2 separate regions of the Homo sapiens genome follow, and region 2 is linked to region 1. The links are contacts of gene promoters, found by promoter capture Hi-C in blood cells and fetal thymus (Javierre and others, 2016). All regions are on one chromosome and are shown on one strand. The core of a region is centred on a gene start or on the middle of the fragment in contact, and the rest is flanking DNA. Distances in the headings are between cores, read along the strand shown.

Evidence for each region. The method cuts DNA at HindIII sites, captures the fragments that hold promoters and counts their contacts. A CHiCAGO score of 5 or more calls a contact.
Region 2: a contact is called between a fragment that was not itself captured here and the fragment with the promoter of CARINH in region 1, in 1 of 17 cell types (fetal thymus). The highest score is 7.1, in fetal thymus.

What each region holds. Positions count from the first base shown.
Region 1 is chr5:132,408,856-132,413,784 of GRCh38, forward strand. CARINH (colitis associated IRF1 antisense regulator of intestinal homeostasis) reads left to right here and starts at 2,074. Exons shown (of 4, transcript NR_161242.1): 1 at 2,074-2,186. RefSeq lists an enhancer at 1,423-1,472 and silencers at 1,713-2,012, 2,083-2,372. The HindIII fragment of the contact is 5,230 bases long and covers 1-4,929 here.
Region 2 is chr5:132,959,121-132,964,049 of GRCh38, forward strand. It overlaps AFF4 (ALF transcription elongation factor 4), which reads right to left and starts at 4,514. Exons shown (of 21, transcript NM_014423.4): 1 at 4,139-4,514. It overlaps AFF4-DT (AFF4 divergent transcript), which reads left to right and starts at 4,692. Exons shown (of 2, transcript NR_186175.1): 1 at 4,692-4,929. RefSeq lists an enhancer at 1,541-2,042 and a silencer at 3,969-4,808. The HindIII fragment of the contact is 1,630 bases long and covers 1,469-3,098 here.

The DNA of each region.
Region 1 (4,929 bases), core at 824-3,323:
ACCCTGCCACTAACATACATAGTAACTATGTGACCTTGGGATTTCCTTCATCTTTTTTTCTCCCAAATGAAAAATAAATAGATTATAATATACCACATGATAGTAGGGAGAAATAATGAGGTAATAATGCATGTAATGCATTTAGCATAGCACTTCTCTAGCAAATAGTGAATGAAATCAGTCAGTTGTCATTCTGACTTTATGCAACAGTGCTAATCGACTCTGGTACACTGGAAGTCAGATGAGATTTTTGGCCCCACAAAGTCAAGGACCAAACCTGGACCTTGGGAAGTTGCCAAGATGAAAAACATCAGGCCGGCCTTGACCTCCTGATGCTCTCTGTTCACATGTGTGATGTCTATAAAAGGTAACCAGGATTTGGCTTATCTGCTTACATCTCTTCCTGTCTTTTCCTGATCTTCATCTTCCCAAACATAGTTTTTATGCAGAAGCAGATTTAACTCTACTTTGCTATCTTGGAGTCAAGAATTGTCCTATAAGGAGGAAGAGGCTCCAAGGCTTGCCTTTTTTGTTTTTTCTTTTTCCTTCATACTACAGACTAAAAGTAGCATCTTCTGGACAGAGAAACAGGCTGTTGTTTTTCTAAGGTCATCATTTGGCCTGCCCCACTTTCCCACCTGCTCTTGAGGGAACTATTGCAAGGACACATACAAGCCCCTACATCAGTCACAGACCAGGGCCTCCATCTTGCAGGGAATGTGCCCAAATTACAAACAGGTAAACCAAAGTGACTCTGGGCAGATTTAATAGCTCATTTTGGTTTCTTGTTCCAGTTATAACAGACTGCTCTGTGTTTGCTCTATGGCAAAAACTTTTATGTTTGCTTTGCAACAAACGTACAGACAGGGCAAACTGTGTTTGGAGTATGGTGTCTTACCAATGTTTTCTAAAAGCAAGTGAATAGAAATGCTTGCAAAAGTATTTTCAGACCTCAGTGGCCAGCGCTGAACACCGCTGTAGGAATGTCCATCAAACGTTGTGGCCATGCTCCACTCTAACAAAAACCTGGTTCCGTGGCATAATTGTGGGGGCTAATTGTCAGGCTAAGTTTCAGACACCTTCCAAAAAAAATTGCAGGGCTTCCTCAGTCTTTAAACTCCAGATAATATTGTCCAAACTTTGACAACTAACCTGTTATCATGGAGATAGCTCCAAGTTGATGGACTGGCCATTAGAGAATGTCTATCAAGCATCCAGGTAAATGACTTGGTTGCTGCCCTCAAGGAACCCACTTAGAGGCTGTCAGAAAATTTTAAGTATTTTCTTCCTTCTATTGTTCATTCCTAAAATTCTGGCAGTAGGTATGATTATTATTATTCCCATCCCACAGGGGAAGTAATTAAGTCTAACTACTTGAATATTTTGCCCCAAATCACTGACAGTAAGAGACGGCCAGACACTGAAACCTGGAATCTCTAAATGTTTAGATATTGATGGGCACCGCTTAGACCAGGGAGTCCAAACCATAGGCTTGCTGTTCCAGTTTCTCTTATCGGATGAAGGGACCCCCATTTCACCGACGTCATTGACTTTTGGGTTCTCCGCTGACCCCAGATGAGATGCCTGGTACCTCATGGTCAAGTCCCCTCCAACGGGGACTCCTCAGAGGCTTGGTCCCAGTTGCTCAGGCTGCCATCTGCCTCCTCAGGCCAGAGCCCGAGGCGCCGCCAGCGGTCAGGTCCCGGGCCGGCTGCCAGCCACAGGCCCAAGTAAACGCTGAATGAAGGGCAGATGGAGGAACCTGTCCCGGTCGGCCGAAGCGCCGCGGGCGCCTTTCCACTTACGGCGGGCCTGCCCAGCCTCCCGCCCAGCCCGGGCCCGGGTCCCGCCGAGGCAGGTGTGCGTGGCGGACTAGCTCTCGGGCACTCGGCTGGCCCAGCTCCACCCCGAACGCCACCGGGCCAGGCCACGCGCAGACCCGAGCCCGGGGCCCCCGCCTCTGGCTGCCGGCCCGCGCCCGCCGCGCGCCCCGCGTTCACTGCGCGCTCGGCCCCGGTCCCGCCTCCCGGAGGGTTTCGCTTTCGCTTTCCTGCCGATGTCGTTGAGGAAAATGAAAGCGGTCGTGGCCAGGACTGGCGCAGCTGCCGTTTCAGGCGAGGGGCGCAGAATGCAGCGGCCGCCAGCCTGGAGCGCGGGCCCTGGGGCCGCAACCCGCGCCGGGCGAGGTAAGCACAGCCCCTTCGCGGCCGCCTCGCGGGCTCCTCCTTGCGGACCCGGCGGGCCCGACGCCAGGCGTTTGACCCGGGCAGGGTCAGGGGTTCTGCCGTGGGGGCGGGGAGGGCCTGAGAAGCGGCACCCTTGGGTTTCGTGGCTTTGAGCCTCCAGGCCAGGCTGGAAGACCTGGGAGGCCTCAGACAAGCGTGCCAAGGGGCTAGCAGCCCGGGGTCGAGCTGGAACCGTGGCAAGTCGGGCCACCTGAGCACGCCTTTCCCTTTTGTAGAGCACCGACCTCCCTGGGTGTTGGTAAAAATCAAAAGTGGGAGGGTGTACGTAAAATGCTGAACAGAATGCCTAACCTGAGCTCATAATCTACTCCCTCTGACCTGTCAGACTCATTTTTCCCACTGGGCCCCACCCCATACCTCATGTAGTTTGCTTAAGTTTCCTAGATCTGGTGCACCTGGGGGCACTTGGAGTGCCTTCCAAGTGTTCCTTGACCGAGCAAGCTGGCAGCTCATCTCCCTTGATCACGGGCATGGAGAGCAACTAGGCCAGGATGTGGCCCCCTTGCCCTGGCCCTGTCCATGTGAAGTCAGGGCCTTACTCTGCTGGGGCCCCCATCCCGGGGCTAGCATAGATGTCAGGGATAGGTGCACTCACAGACCGAGTCCTTCCCAGACCAGGAAATTTCCAGTCCACTGCATCTGCCAGCAGAAGCATGAAAGATGCGTGCCACCTTGTCTTTGCCCTTCGTCAAGTATAGCCAACTCATTCTTGGTATGCAGGAAGGGGGTTCCACCCCAGGGCTGTGGAAACAGCCCCTGCCCTTAGGGCGTTCCCATCCCCTGAAGAGAGAAAATATGTATTCAAGTTACCCATCAGGCAGGTTGTGTAGAACAAGGACAGGTGAGTGAAAGAGCTAAGAGCTGAGAGTAAAGTGACTAAATCATCAGAAACTTTACATTTAAGTTATGACAGGTTTTGCAGGCCAATACCAAGAATCCCCTTTAACTCAATTTTTGTCTCAATAATAATGAATTCAGCCTAATCACACAGATCTGATCATACGGCCCATTACTGAAACAAAACTTGAATGATCTTTACTTTGAGAAAACCATCTGAATTTGACAAAAGATGGTCTAAGTTCCTAAGTTTCAAAACATGGAGTCCGCCGCTGCCCTACCTCAGCAGGATGGTGTTGAGTACTGATTGCTTTTAGAAAATGCTGCTCTTGCCGGGCACGGTGGCTCACGCCTGTAATCCCAGCACTTCAGGAGGCCGAGGCGGGCTGATTACCTGAGGTCGGGAGTTTGAGACCAGCCTGACAAACATGGAGAAACCCCGTCTCTACTAAAAATACAAAATTAGCCAGGCATTGTGGCACATGCCTGTAATCCCAGCTACTTGGGAGGCTGAGGTAGGAGAATTGCTTGAACCCGGGAGGCGGAGGTTGCAGTGAGCCAAGATCGCGCCACTGCACTCCAGCCTCGGCAACAAGAGCTAAACTCCGTCTAAAAAAAACAAAGAAAGAAAAAAAGAAAATAGAGAAAATGCTGCTGTTTTCATGAGCCAGAAAATTAGATGCACTTCCATTCACATTCCATTGGCATGGACTAGTCTCATGGGTCTCACCTAATTGTAAGGTGGCTGGGAAATGTAGCCTGGTGGTGTTCCCAGGAGGAAAAGAACGAGAGACTGGTGAGCACTAGTAACCTCTTCCACAATCGACTAATGTGGTGAATTACTTTATCATGATGTATTTGTAATACACTTTCGTATTTGATTAGATAATATTTTATTTAGGAGTTTAACATCTATGTTTATAAGTGAAACTATCCTGTATTTTTCTTTATTTGTACAGTCCATATTTAACATTTCAAAATCAAGTAACAAATTGGGCAATGTTTTCTCTTTTTTTCTATTTTCTAAAGCAACTCCATTAAGATAGAGATTTTCTGCTCCTTGGAAGTTAGTAGGAGGCACTTGTAAAATCTTCTGGGTCTGAAACTCTATGGGGAAGAGGTTTCAAAATTATTTGAGTCTCTTAAGTGGTTATTCACATTTTTGTGCCAAATTTGGCAATTTTTATTGTCTAGAAATTATTCATTTCATCTGTATTTTCAAATGTATTATCATGTGTTTATATTATTCCTTTATAAGTTTTAAAATGTCTGTTTTATTTGTCATTTCTTCCTTTTTCTGTAATCTCATTTTTAAAAAATCTTCTGTCAGTTATTCTTGATCAGTCTCACTAGAGGTTTGTCTACTTTCAAATAAATACTTCAAGTTTTGTTAACCACCTTTTTTTTGGTCCTCTATGTCCTCTATTTTGCTGATTCTGCCCTTATGTTTATTATTCCATTTTTTCATGTTTCTTTAGTCATATGCTTTTGTAATAAATTCAAACAGTATAGACATTTGTAAAGTGAGACAGGAAAGTCCACTTCAGCCTCCATAGGCAACCACAGATATCATATTGGTGTGTTTTTCTGGACCCTTTCCTATGCTTATACAAATATTTTTCTACAACTTTCTAAACTGAAACTCATAGGTAAACTGCTCTTTATAGGCAACCACAGATATCATATTGGTGTGTTTTTCTGGACCCTTTCCTATGCTTATACAAATATATTTCTACATCTTTCTAAACTGAAACTCATGGGCCTCTTTCTGTGGTGTATACACACACATACACATACATACACACACATACACATCCATTAAAATGGAATACATACCATAATTTAT
Region 2 (4,929 bases), core at 1,034-3,533, 550 kb after region 1:
TTACAGATTTTTTTTTTTTTTTTTGAGATAGAGTCTTGCTGTGTTGCCAGGCTGGAGTGCAGTGGTGCGATCTCAGCTCACTGCAACCTCCGCCTCCCAGGTTCAAGCGATTCTCCTGCCTCAGCCTCCCAAGTAGCTGGGACTACAGGCGCCACCATGCCCAGCTAATTTTTGTATTTTTAGTAAAGACGGGGTTTCACCATATTGTCCAGGATTGTCTTGATCTCTCGACCTCGTGATCCGCCCACCTTGGCCTCCCAAAGTGCTGGGATTACAGGCATGAGCCACCGGGCCCGGCAAGGTTACAGATTTTTTTAAATAAAGAATAGCTGATAAAGCAGGTAGCTAAGATTTTTTTTCTTCAAAAATAGAATAGGTAGTTCTAGTATTAAAATGTTTTGGAATACTCTGGAATTGAATTTGGAGGTTCTAATATTTTCTGTGCCCCAGTATCGTTAAAACTTTCAAGATATGATACCAGCGAAAATGAACATCAAGACAAACAGGAATGCAGATGATGTGCCAAAACTCAGTAACTGGAACATATATTACTGCCCTCTTCCGTGTACTAGAGTATCACTTCAAATAACCAAGAAGGGTATGTATAGGGAGTTAACAACAAGTAGGAGTGCTTTTCTTTTTTTTTTTTTTTTTTTTTTTTTGAGACGGAGTCTCGCTCTGTTGCCCAGGCTGGAGTGCAGTGGTGCGATCTCGACTCACTGCAAGCTCCGCCTCCTGGGTTCACGCCATTCTGCTGCCTCAGCCTCCCAAGTAGCTGGGACTACAGGCGCCTGCCACCACACCCAGCTAATTTTTTGTATTCTTTTAGTAGAGACGTGTTAGCCAGGATGGTCTCGATCTCCTGACCTCGTGATCCGCCAGCCTCAGCCTCCCAAAGTGCTGGGATTACAGGCATAAGCCACTGCGCCTGGCCAGTAGGAGCGCTTTTCTTAAACCAAAGGAAAAAGCAGCAAGGTAACAGGTCAGGTTAGCTTTAGGCAGTCTTTAGTCACTACACCTTCTTTCACAATAACTGAGACTAGCTAACACCCTCCCAGAAATCAAATAGAATTGTTCCAACTTATCAGAGGAAATGAATAAGGGAATGGGTAAAACATAATAAGGATGCAGGAGAGCTGGGAACCTTTATATCATATAGAAAAGTCTTCATAGTGAGATATCTGTAGAATAAAGCTAAAGTAAAAAAAAATCTAAGTCATCAATTTTTTATAGTACATGCTGTACTTCTGGGTCATTGTCCAGGTGTGCTCTCAATACTTAAGAATACCTCTTTGATTTTATTAAAAATACCACAAAGAAAAGTCCTCATAGATTTTGAACTCCATTCTAAACCAGTGGATGGCCACAAAGGAAGAAATACCTGTTTTATTTGTTCCTCTCAGGTACACATAAAACTACGGCATTTACCTTACCTTCTCAAAAAAGGCAAAATATATAACTTTTAGAAAGCTTCATCTTCTGTCTCATCTTCTGAAACTGACAGGTTTTTCCCTTTCAAATACTGATCCTTTGCTCATACAGCTTTCTTTACATTACCTTTTTGTGAAATCTTAGATAAGTTGATAGAACAACAATTTCAAGTTCAAAATATTATCACATTCAAATTCAATCTAGTAATTGTGTAAAATACTGAGGAAGATAAAAAGAGGAATAAATATAGTACTTCCTCAAAGACCCTGTAACAGATCTGTAAGAAAATTATTATGCATCCCTCAATATCTGCAAGAGACAGGGAAAAAAAGAAAATTACAGTGCAAAACATATAGTAGGCTTCTGCTTGTTTGAGACATCGCCTAGGTTGGCCGGGCGCAGTGCTCATGCCTGTAATCCCAACACTTTGGGGAGGCCGAGGCGTGTGGATCACGAGGTCAGGAGTTCGAGACCAGTCTGACCAACCTGCTGAAACCCCGTCTCTACTAAAAATACAAAAAACATTAACTGGGAATGGTAGTGTGTACCTGCAATCCCAACTACTCAGGAGGCTGAGGCAGGAGAATCGCTTGAACCCAGGAGGCAGAGGTTGCAGTGAGCAGAGATGGAGCCACTGCATTCCAGTGGTGTGATCTCGGCTTACTGCAACCTTCGCCTCCCAGTTCAAGCGATTCTCAAGCGATTCTCGTGCCTCAGCCTCTGGAGTAGCTGGGACTACAGGCATGTACCACCATGTCTGGCTAATTTGGTTCTCATGCCTCAGCCTCTCAAGTAGCTAGAACTACAGGTGTGCACCACCACACCTGGCTAATTCTTGTATTTTTAGTAGAGACGGGGTTTCATTATGTTGGCCAGGATGGTCTAGAACTCCTGACCTCAGGTGATCCGCCCACCTCGGCCTCTCAAAGTGCTAAAGTGCTAGGATTACAGGCGTGAACCACCAGGCCCGGCTGCAGAATATATTGCTACAAAAAGGGTACAATAACTCAAGAGTACACAGAAGAGAATGTATCAACCTGAATGTGAGAATCTGACAAGTAGAAAGTGACTCAGAACAAAAATATTCAATCTTTAAGAATTCTTAATTACACAGCTTCACCTTACACTCCCAAACTGTAGATCATGTTCCAATTAACACAGCTGGGCTCTTTTTTCAGACACCCCATCTTGTCCCCACTTGAAGCAAAATTTTATTTAAAGTAAAATTTGCCTACTGTTTCTAGAGAGTTAACAAAAATCAAAGTACCAGCCTGCAAACCACCGCAAATTGAATGAAACTGCTGGTAATAAAAAAAGAAAAATTTGACTGCTTCCAGGTTTTTAGTAAGTTAACTCTGAAAGATAACTTAAAATAACTTACTGGGAATTTTTCTTATATTTAGGAGCTGAAAGATGCAGTGATAATAAGGAAAACGAATCTGAGAAATTTAAAGAAGCCAGCTTTGTTGAAAACCAAGTGGCCACTTGCCAACACTTCTTTATGCACGTATGACCAAAGATGATTCTAGGCAGACTCACAGACCACAAAGGCTCTTTATCAAATCCCAAATTAAGAAAGTTCTCATAAATATTTCAATTTTGATAAGTTAAAGACCAGTTAAGTTTTAAAAAGCACTTTATGAAGTGCAGAATCAATACAGAAACGAAGCTTTGCGCTTTTCATATCTGAGCCCGAAAAACAGCACACATTTTATGTTACATTTACAGTCTATTCACAGACACCTATAGCTTAGATTCCATCAAGAAAAACACTGGTCAATGGAAAAGTGACTGGCCTTAGTATAAAATTTCCATGTGGCCAGCAGGGAAGAAACCGCATAATTCTGAATTACAACTGACAAAACTACGAGAACCCTAAATCGAACTCTTCGCCTTGAACTCCATATACAAACATTTCAGATTCGTACTTCCACTTCCTGAAAATAATACTGTTTGTAAACGAAAAGGCAATAAGGTTACTCCCAAAACTCCTGTACTCCATGATCCATCCTCAAAGAGTGGAAGGAACAGCAAAGTAGAAGGAACAAAGCACTGACGTCAATTACGAGATTAACCCCAAGCACAGGCAGCTGGAGGAAAGGCCTAAACATCAATATCCACGCACAAGCTACTGGGATAACTAGGTAACAGACCGATTCAGAAGTTGTAGGGGAGGGTATTCGAGTATTATACCCCCACGTTCCCATTTTTAGTCAATCCCCTTCGCAAGTCGAAGGCGGAAATTTTTCCTTCTTTTTTTTTTTTTTTTGCGGGGGTGGGGGTGTGGGAGAGGTGCGCAGGATCGCGAGAAGGAAAGCGAGAACTAGCTGGGTAATGTTAGCCAGAATCTGGGCCTATTTTCTCTTTAATTAGACATAATTTGAAATTGAGGAGGATATGAAAAAGTAACAAATCAGCCGATGGAACGTCTGAGGAAAGAAAGAGGAAAGGAGAAACACTAAACGGATGGATTTCTGGGAATTTTTGTTAGGATTGGGTTAGCTTTTTTTATTTTCTTATCTTTGCGGGAAGGTGGTGGGGTGGGACGCGCAGATGAGAGGAGGGGTGACGCCTGATTGAGCAGCCCCAGCCCGGAGGGTCTCCCCGAGGCTCCCCGCAGAACTTGCGGGCCCCCACCCCCACCCGGCCCCGGCCACAACCCCCGCGGCCCGGCCCGGCCCTGGGTCAGTCTGTCGGCCCTTCTTACCTCCAGTCCCGGCTCCGCTAGGCCCGAACCATCTCCTGGCTGCGGCAGTGGCGGCGCCGGGCCTGCACCTTCACCGGACGCGCATTCGAGCCCGCCCAGGGGGCGGTGACAGGCTGCCAAGGGCGAGGGGCTCCGGGAGGCGGCGGGGGTTCCGGAGGCCTCGACAAACGAAGGCGGCGTCGGCGGCGGCGGCAGCGATGCGCCTCACACGGAACAGGCGTAGGCCCCGCACCGCTCCATGACGGTCGGGCCCGGGCTGGGACAGCTGACTGAGGCGGCGGGGGCGGGTTAACGAAGACCTGGCACCAGGATCCCCGCCCCGTCCGCTGGCGGCGGCGACGGCAGCTGGACTCCTGCAGCCAGGGCTGTGACTGACGCAGCGGCCGTGCCACCATGTGACCAAGACCGGGCGGGTGCGGGGCGTCACGTGATGCCTCTGCGCCCCTCCCCGCTGGGGGAGTAGGGGGCGGGGGTCTGTGGGCCGGCTGGGCCGGGAGGCGACGCCCGGGGTGGTGACGTTCCCGGCTGTGGGGTCTGATGACCCGGGCCAGGCAAAGGACCCGCCCGAGCGGTATAGGCCTGAGCCTCTGGGCACTGCGGCCGCGTCCGGCAGGGCTGCCACGGCAGTACAGGGCCTGCACATCCGGGAGCTCACGCCCTCCTGCGCGTAGCCCGCTAGTGAGGTTCCGAAGGGCGGGGCCGGGCCGAACCGGATATGCCGGTTCTGGGGCTCAGGTGACAAACCCAGGCCTTCCGCCCCTCGCCTCTGGTGGGGATCCGGCCCAACCCGG